3 separate regions of the Homo sapiens genome follow, and all the other regions are linked to region 2. The links are contacts of gene promoters, found by promoter capture Hi-C in blood cells and fetal thymus (Javierre and others, 2016). All regions are on one chromosome and are shown on one strand. The core of a region is centred on a gene start or on the middle of the fragment in contact, and the rest is flanking DNA. Distances in the headings are between cores, read along the strand shown.

The links. The method cuts DNA at HindIII sites, captures the fragments that hold promoters and counts their contacts. A CHiCAGO score of 5 or more calls a contact.
Region 1: a contact is called between a fragment that was not itself captured here and the fragment with the promoter of RPP25L in region 2, in 1 of 17 cell types (M2 macrophages). The highest score is 5.5, in M2 macrophages.
Region 3: a fragment that was not itself captured here is called in contact with the fragment with the promoter of RPP25L in region 2 in 2 of 17 cell types (M2 macrophages and endothelial precursors); the score reaches 5.3 in M2 macrophages.

What each region holds. Positions count from the first base shown.
Region 1 is chr9:34,433,203-34,435,902 of GRCh38, reverse strand. All of the region lies in intron 1 of FAM219A (family with sequence similarity 219 member A), which reads left to right. Among named protein-coding and RNA genes, the nearest start is that of FAM219A, 24 kb to the left of the region's middle. The HindIII fragment of the contact is 8,827 bases long and covers 1-2,700 here.
Region 2 is chr9:34,610,829-34,613,528 of GRCh38, reverse strand. RPP25L (ribonuclease P/MRP subunit p25 like) reads left to right here and starts at 1,432. Exons shown (of 2, transcript NM_148178.3): 1 at 1,432-1,465; 2 at 2,197-2,700. The coding sequence starts at 2,233. RefSeq lists enhancers at 631-680, 808-857, 1,961-2,514 and a silencer at 1,258-1,497. The HindIII fragment of the contact is 14,389 bases long and covers 1-2,700 here.
Region 3 is chr9:34,383,506-34,386,205 of GRCh38, reverse strand. SPMIP6 (sperm microtubule inner protein 6) reads left to right here. Exons shown (of 7, transcript NM_032596.4): 2 at 425-569. All of the region lies in intron 1 of LOC124902144 (a long non-coding RNA gene), which reads right to left. Among named protein-coding and RNA genes, the nearest start is that of MYORG, 8.0 kb to the right of the region's middle. The HindIII fragment of the contact is 5,604 bases long and covers 1-2,700 here.

The sequences.
Region 1 (2,700 bases), core at 187-2,686, 180 kb after region 2:
ACCCAGAAGGCAGGGGTTGCAGTGAGCCGAGATCATGCCATTGCACTCCAGCCTGGGTGATACAGTGAGACTCCATCTCAAAAAAAAAAGCAATCTAAACCTCCATCAGGGAGGACTGATTTAATAAATCATGGTACCTCCATCCCATAGCATACATATGGGCAGCCTTTTAAAAGGAGGATGTAAATCTAATATGAATTGACATAAAAAGATATTCATGATAGATGCATTTCATTGTGGTAAAGCGCACATAACACAAAAGTTACTGAGTAAAATACATATGGAAGATGGATCATCTGATTCCATGTATGTTTAAATTGGTATATATGATTACATATCTTTAAAGTCTGGAAGTATAAAATAAACTGGCAACAGTAATGAATTATAGGAGAACTTTCATGTTCTGTATTCACCTTTTTGCATTTGAATTTGTTATGACAAAACAGCATCACCTTTTTCTTTGAATTTTTTTCTATTTGGGGAAACAAATGGTCAAAAATCATGATCTTTGACTCTATCATTTTTTCCCAGGTGATAGAGCTCATGCTTTCCATATTTTTAAATTGGGTATGCATACCAAAAGGGGGTAAGATGAATTGAGTGTGGAAATGCTGCCAGAGACCTGTGTGTCACTTGTCTAAACAATCTTGTTCCTGCTATGCACCCCAGCTTTGACATGCCACACTTGACTCACATCTTCCCAATTCCTTCTCAAGTTCTACAGAGCCCTGTAGCTTCTAGGAGGCAGGGCATTTCTTTGGAAACAGAAAATCATCAACACTGGCCAGGCACAGTGGCTCAGGCCTGTAATCCCAGTACTTTGGGAGGCTGAGGCAGGCAGATCACTTGAGCTCAGGAGTTCAAGACCAGCCTGGCCAACATAGTGAAACCCCATCTCCACCAAAAATACAAAAAGTTAGCCAGATGTGGTGGCACATGCCTGTAGTCCCAGCTACTTGGGAGGCTGAGGCAGGAGGATCACTTGAGCCCAGGAGGTGGAGGTTACAGTGAACTGAGATCCCACCACTGCACTCCAGTCTGGGTGACAGAGTGAGACTCTGTCTCAAAAAAAAAGAAAGAAAGAAAGAAAACCATCAACATTGAGCAGATACCTTCCTGTTTCTTACTCCCTGTTGAGAGATCTCCTACAGTTCCACTTTCACCATATAAGAAAAGGAAAGCAAGGGGACAAATTTACTCTCACATTCCCCAAGGTAAAACTATGATCACTAATATTTGAATGTTCTGGATGGTTCTCTTTGGCTTCTGGCCTTCCTCCCATTAGTGTTGTCTCTTGTTGTGTTATCGTTTTCTGTATGGCCATTTTATGTGGTAAAGTAGGAAAGGGACCAGGAAACTTGGGGCCCAGTTCTGGATATGGGACTTCAGGGGAGTTACTCAGCTTTATAGGGCTTCAGATTCTTTTTCTCTGTAAAATTGAGATAAATGATAGATGGATTATCAGAGATTAAATGAAATAAAATGAGGAAAAAGCCTTGAAATTTTAAGTTGCAATATAAAAATAAATATCTATATTTTCTGAATTTAACCTTTTCTGATTTGTATTGTAAACTCTTATGTCAAGAAGCATGTCTCTAAATCTGTTTACTGTGGTATAGCAATTTAATAGGAAGATTGGAGAGATACTGAAGAATCTGGAGAGGCCACTTCATTCTTTTTTTTTTTTTTTTTTTTTTTTTTGAGACGGAGTCTAGCTCTGTTGCCCAGGCTGGAGTGCAGTGGCGCGATCTTGGCTCACTGCAAGCTCCGCCTCCCGGGTTCACGCCATTCTCCTGCCTCAGCCTCCCGAGTAGCTGGGACTACAGACGCCCGCCACCACACCCAGCTAATTTTTTGTATTTTTAGTAGAGACGGGGTTTCACCGTGTTAGCCAGGATGGTCTTGATCTCCTGACCTTGTGATCCGCCCGCCTCGGCCTCCCAAAGTGCTGGGATTACAGGCATGAGCCACCGCGCCCGGCCGAGGCCACTTCATTCTTAAAACCAACCTGAGCAACGGGGAGGGCAGAGGAGAGTCGGAGGCTTATTTCCTACTTGATTCACTTCTGTATTGTGTTACTTTCCCCATTGAATATGCATTACCTTTATAAGTTAAGGAAACCAATACAGATTTTTTTTAATGGCTTAAAATGATACAGTCAGTCTGGATATAGAAATTGGAAGTCATCTGCATAGAGGGCTGACAGTTAGGGCAAAGAGATCAAAGGATTTAGAAAGATGGCAGTTGGAGGAGCAGCCAGATTGGCAAACTGGGGTCATGTTTTTAAAACTTATTGGATGTCAGGTTGAGGAGTTTTTAAGTGGTAGGAGCTATCAGAAGGTCTTGAGCAAAGGAGTACTGCAATAAGAGCAGTGTTTAATTCTCAGAAGAGTCTTTTAACAGTAATATACAAGATGAGTTGGAGGAAGAGGAGACAAGGTGGGGAGATGAGTGGGTTACTACTGCAGTGATCCTGGAATATGCTGAGAAGGGCCTGAAGCAGGTTGTTGGCTGATAATTTTTTTTAAAGATAAACATTAGATATTCTGCAGAACCTTCTAGGTTCATGATTAGTTTCCCATAGAGATAAAGGAGGAAGAAGTAGATCAAAATGAGCCCACAGGGAGGTTAAAACAGGAGCCAACCTGAAAGTGTTCTCAATGGCCAAAGCTGGAAACATTTGAGCAACAAAACAAATAT
Region 2 (2,700 bases), core at 183-2,682:
TGGTCTAGGATGGAGGTGGTAGGGGGCAGAGGTGTCAGCCTGCCTAATCGTTTGACTGGGAACTAAACTCATCCTGGTCTGGCTTTCTGGCAGGTGTAGAGCTCTCAAAATGAAGGCTCTCATTTGATTATGTGAATAGGATATTCCTTTATGTATCCATTTATCCCACATTTACCAATAAGAGACCTCCAAATGTCAGATGATGGGAGTAGATAGGGCTAATCCCTGCCCTGCACGGGCTAGCAGGATAGACAGTAAAGGAAAAGGGCAGTCCTATCAGGTGGACACAGAAGAAAAAAGGGACTGAAGGGACCTGGTAAGTGATATCCAGGGACTTTCAGAGCCAAGGGAGCAGCATGTGCAAAGGCCTTTAAATTTCTCTCTTGGGAGCCTACCTGCTGCCACGAGCCGAGAAGGGCAGCCTAAGAGGTTTGGATGCAGGAAGTTTTGGTCCTGGGGAGGGGAAGTTGGGAAGTAGGGGCGCTGGGGCAAGCATGTTGAGAAACAGATTGGCACCGTAGTCCACCAAATGTTTGCTGCCCCCTTGTGGTCTCAGGGAGTGCTCTGGCTCCAGACCCTTTTTCCAACGGCCCATTGGCCGCCCCGCCTTTGCGACCTCTCCGGCACCTCAAATTCAGCGTGTCCAAACCGATCTGAAACCTGGGAGTCACCCTAGATCGGAATTTCCTACTTCTCCGTCCAAACAGTGGCCAACTCGTCACTGAACCTACTAGTATCTCCCAACTTAATCTTTTTTCCATTCCCACCGCGATTTCTCTGGTTCATTAATGTAACAAATCATTTAACAAATATTGAGCGCCGGTCATACGCCAGGCACCATACTAGGCTCCGTGGGCACCCCCGCCCCCTCAGCCCCCAGACTCCGCGGCAGGTGTCGTCAGGGGCTGTGGCCCGATTTCCCCACCACTCCCTCCTCGGCTCCCTGCACAAGATCTGGTTCGACTGGCCCCTGGAAAACCCGGAAAACCCCCGTGGTCCGCCAGCGCCCACAGGATGAGGTCGAAGCTCAGAAGTCGGTAACTAAGGCTCTCGCCCATGCAACAGCAGCCACTACAAACTGAAGCCTTTGTTCGCACCCACGGTGAAACCCACAGCTCCCCGTTTGCTCAACAGCTAACGCCAGCCCTCCCATCTTCTAAGGGCCAGATCCCCCTCCTTCAGACGCAGGACTTCCCCGACGGCCGCTCCTTTCTACCGCAGGGAACTGTCCTGCCTCCCTCCGGGGCGTAACAGCGGAGGCTGCGCTCGTGTTCCCATCCCCGCTGGGACTGGTCCGGGGCGCTCTGGCCAGCGGGTTGTTTCCGCGGCGGAGATGCCTCGGGGCCCGTCCCTCACGCCCCGCCCCTCACGCCCCGCCCCCTCGGGGCGTGCGCGGCCCCGCGGCCTTAGTGCGCTCCGGGCCCGCGCGCCATCTTGGCTCCGGATCGTGCGTGAGGCGGCTTCGGTGAGAGCCGGAACCGGGCGGGCAGAGGGGCGCTCGTAGGGTTGGGGGACGCCTGTGGCTTGGCTGCAGCGGCCGGCAAGACCCTGGAAGAGACCGTGGCTATGGAAACGGCCAAGGCTGTCTTGGAATGTCCTGAGCAGCCCTCCGAGTCGAGCCTCTGCCCCCGAGTTTCTGAGTGACCTGGGTTGATATAGATTGACCTTGGTAATCTCTGGGAGAGGGGATCCGTTCTGTTTGGGGGCAGCACTGGATAAGGGTTCTTGGCTGTTTCCCGGGGGGCCTGGGGCGAAGGGCCTTGTCCCTGTCCTTGTAGAGCCCCAAGTGAGGAGCGCTCTCTATTGGTATTAGTCTGGGGTGAGGGTTCCAGGCCCTGTTCCAAGGAGCCCAGGATAAGGGGGGCTAAGCCCCAGTCCTGGAGAGTTTAGGATGAGGGGGCCTGGCACTTTCCCAAAGAGCTCAGTGTTTGGGGAATGTGATCCTGCCTCTTGGACTCCAGGATTGGAGGTGGGGGTGTTATGGCCCTTGTAGAGGAACGGGGTGTATGGGGTACAGCCCTTTCCCAGACTGCGGCAGGCATGGACCTTGTCACGAGATGCTAAGGACAAGGGGACATGATCCTGTTTCTGGGAAGTCTGGAACGGGGAGCAGGGCCATATCCTGGATGGAGATAGGGGATGGTGGACAGTGACTTGGGGCACATTGCTTAGCACTTACCTGATGCTTCCCTGCAGTGGGCAGCGAGAGTCACAGACAAGACAGCAAGCAGGATGGAGCACTACCGGAAAGCTGGCTCTGTAGAGCTCCCAGCGCCTTCCCCAATGCCCCAGCTACCTCCTGATACCCTTGAGATGCGGGTCCGAGATGGCAGCAAAATTCGCAACCTGCTGGGGTTGGCTCTGGGTCGGTTGGAGGGCGGCAGTGCTCGGCATGTAGTGTTCTCAGGTTCTGGCAGGGCTGCAGGAAAGGCTGTCAGCTGCGCTGAGATTGTCAAGCGGCGGGTCCCAGGCCTGCACCAGCTCACCAAGCTACGTTTCCTTCAGACTGAGGACAGCTGGGTCCCAGCCTCACCTGACACAGGGCTAGACCCCCTCACAGTGCGCCGCCATGTGCCTGCAGTGTGGGTGCTGCTCAGCCGGGACCCCCTGGACCCCAATGAGTGTGGTTACCAACCCCCAGGAGCACCCCCTGGCCTGGGTTCCATGCCCAGCTCCAGCTGTGGCCCTCGTTCCCGAAGA
Region 3 (2,700 bases), core at 16-2,515, 230 kb after region 2:
CAGCTCCCAGGGTAGCCCTCTTTTCTGAGACTGGGGCCTGATGCACTGTTGGCAGAGACCCAGCCCTGCTCCCAGGCAGCATACAGTCTAGGAGAAAAAGGACAGGTATATGTAGCTCTGACCTTCATGAGCTCCCCACCAGGAAATGGCAGAAATGAGAAAGTCAGAAAACTACTCTGACGTAAGGCCACCGCTCGGCCCCAAGCCCTAGCCTTGGATGAAAAGAAAGGAGGAAAGGGTAATTCAGACAAGAGCACTGTGCAGAGGAGCCAAGGCTAGCATGGGAATCCCTCTGACATGGGGAGGGGGGTTGGGAGACCCACCTGGGCTGACCTTCTCAAGAGAGGCTGGATCTAGTTCCAGCAAGACCCCAGGGCTGGGGTCTCTGTGCCCCTAACCACTTCTCTCCTCTCCCCTTGCCCAGGGTCTGACTCATACCATGGAGCGACATGTGGATCCCGAAGCCCTGCAGAAGATGGCCAAATGTGCTGTACAGGACTACACTTATAGGGGGTCCATATCAGGCCACCCCTACTTGCCTGAGAAGTACTGGCTTTCTCAAGAGGAAGGTAAGGCCTCACCCTTTGCTGACCCCTAAAATGACCCCCAACCTGAACCCAACCACCTGGATCGTGACCTCTATCCTTTTTTTTTTTTTTTTTTTTTTTTTGAGACGGAGTTTCGCTCTTGTTGCCCAGTCTGGGTGCAATGGCATGATCTCGGCTCACTGCAACCCACTTCCACCTCCCAGGTTCAAGTGATTTTCCTACCTTAGCCTCCTGAGTAGCTGGGACTACAGGCATGTGCCACCAGGCCCGGCTAATTTTTGTATTTTCAGTAGAGATGGGGTTTCACCATGTTGGCCAGGCTGGTCTCGAACTTCTGACCTCAGGTGATCTGCCCGCCTCGGCCTCCCAAAATGCTGGGATTACAGGCCTGAGCCACCATGCCCAGCCTCCATCCTGATTCTATGTCAACTTTATCTCCACCCATGACCTAGATTTCTTCCCTAACCACCCCCTCCACCAACCACCTGACCTGACCCTGGCCCTGGAGGAGATGACCTAGGCCCTGCTTTTTGGGGTTCTTGTCGGTGGAAAAAAAAACCTGGAAGGGCCCTGGGTCCCATCCTTAGCGAGTTGGAGAAAGGATTAACCTCCCACAGACAGATCCCTCCAAGTGCATTCCAGATACCATCTCCTCCCATCTTCCCAGCCATCCTGCTCCCATCAGCTCCCTCCACCTCTCCTGCATCCCTCTGCCCCACCACACCTCTTTCCCTCAACCTGGAACCTTCTCTAGTTTCTTCCCAACTAAAAATTATCTCTTGCTCCTGTTCTCAACAGCCTAGGTTCTCGGAAACATGGTCCATACTCACTGTCTCTATTTCCTCACCCTTTCTTATACCTTATGAGAAACTGTCTTTCTCATTTGCTTGGATATAATATAATCTGTCTGGCTGTACATTCGAAAAGAGCCGAGTCTGGTCTTATTCACAGCTGTGCCCCTCCATCGAGCACAGCACCAGGCTTCATAAGTCTTTGTTGAATGGACTGAGAATTCCCAATGGAAGTTGGGAATGTGCATCTCCTATGATGAAACAATAAATTGCTCTTGCATGGCTCTGATTACCAAATCCACAGGACTCTGCAGTCTTTACCCTCTGAGACCTTTACCCTCCTAGACCAATGAATTGCACTCTTCTGACCACTCTCTACTCGTTTTGTTGTTGATGTTGTTTTGTATGTTAATCCTCCAGCACACAGGCTATGACCACACTCTACTTCTTGAAACAACTTCCTCCTCAGCTTCTCTGATGCCTCCCTTTCCTGTGCATCCACTGTGGAAACATGGGGTTCCTCAGGGTGTTATCCTGCACCCTCTTCTCCCCTTGCTCCTCCTCCAAGGCCATTTGATTTAACACAAGCCTTTAATTACTGACAGCTTCAAATCCTAATTTCCAGATTTGTCCTCTCATCAGAATTCCACTCTTCTTCATATGCTTATAGTCATCTTGATCTGGATGTCCCCAAACACCTCAGTTTCAGTATGTGCAAACTGCCATCCCCGAACTCCAAATCCCAGCACTGCACCCCTCCCCTCAGACAGCTGCTCTTCGCTAGGGCTTCCTCCACACCGTGTCGCATATGTATTCTTTCAGACTGTTGGATCATGGAGGGCCTTGTAGGACAGGCTTAGGTGACTGGGGGCTAAGGCAGACAAACCCTATAGGGTTTTAAGTAGGAGGGTGTCTTGGTCAAATTTTCATTTGTGAAAAGTACCACAGGTGCTATGTCAAGGCTGGATTATAGGATTTCAAAGGTGAGGCAAGGATAACAGTAGAATAATCATAATAGTTTTTTATGTGCCAAGCATCATTCTAAATGTCTTACATATACTAACTCACTTAAACCTCACAGCAACCCTGTGAAGTAAATGGTACTATTATCCCCATTTTAAAGTTGGAGAAACTGAGACACATCAAAATTAATTAATTCAGTCAGGGTCACACAGATAATAATTGTAAAACTGAAATTTAAACACAAGCAGTCTATCTGCAGAGATAGGTATCTATTAACCAAGACATTATATTGTCTTCTGGTTAAGGTGCTGCAAAGATATGGAAGTGAGATCATGGGGCACTGGAAGAGGAAGTAGATTCAAGTTATTTATCTATTTATTGAGACTGAGTCTTGATCT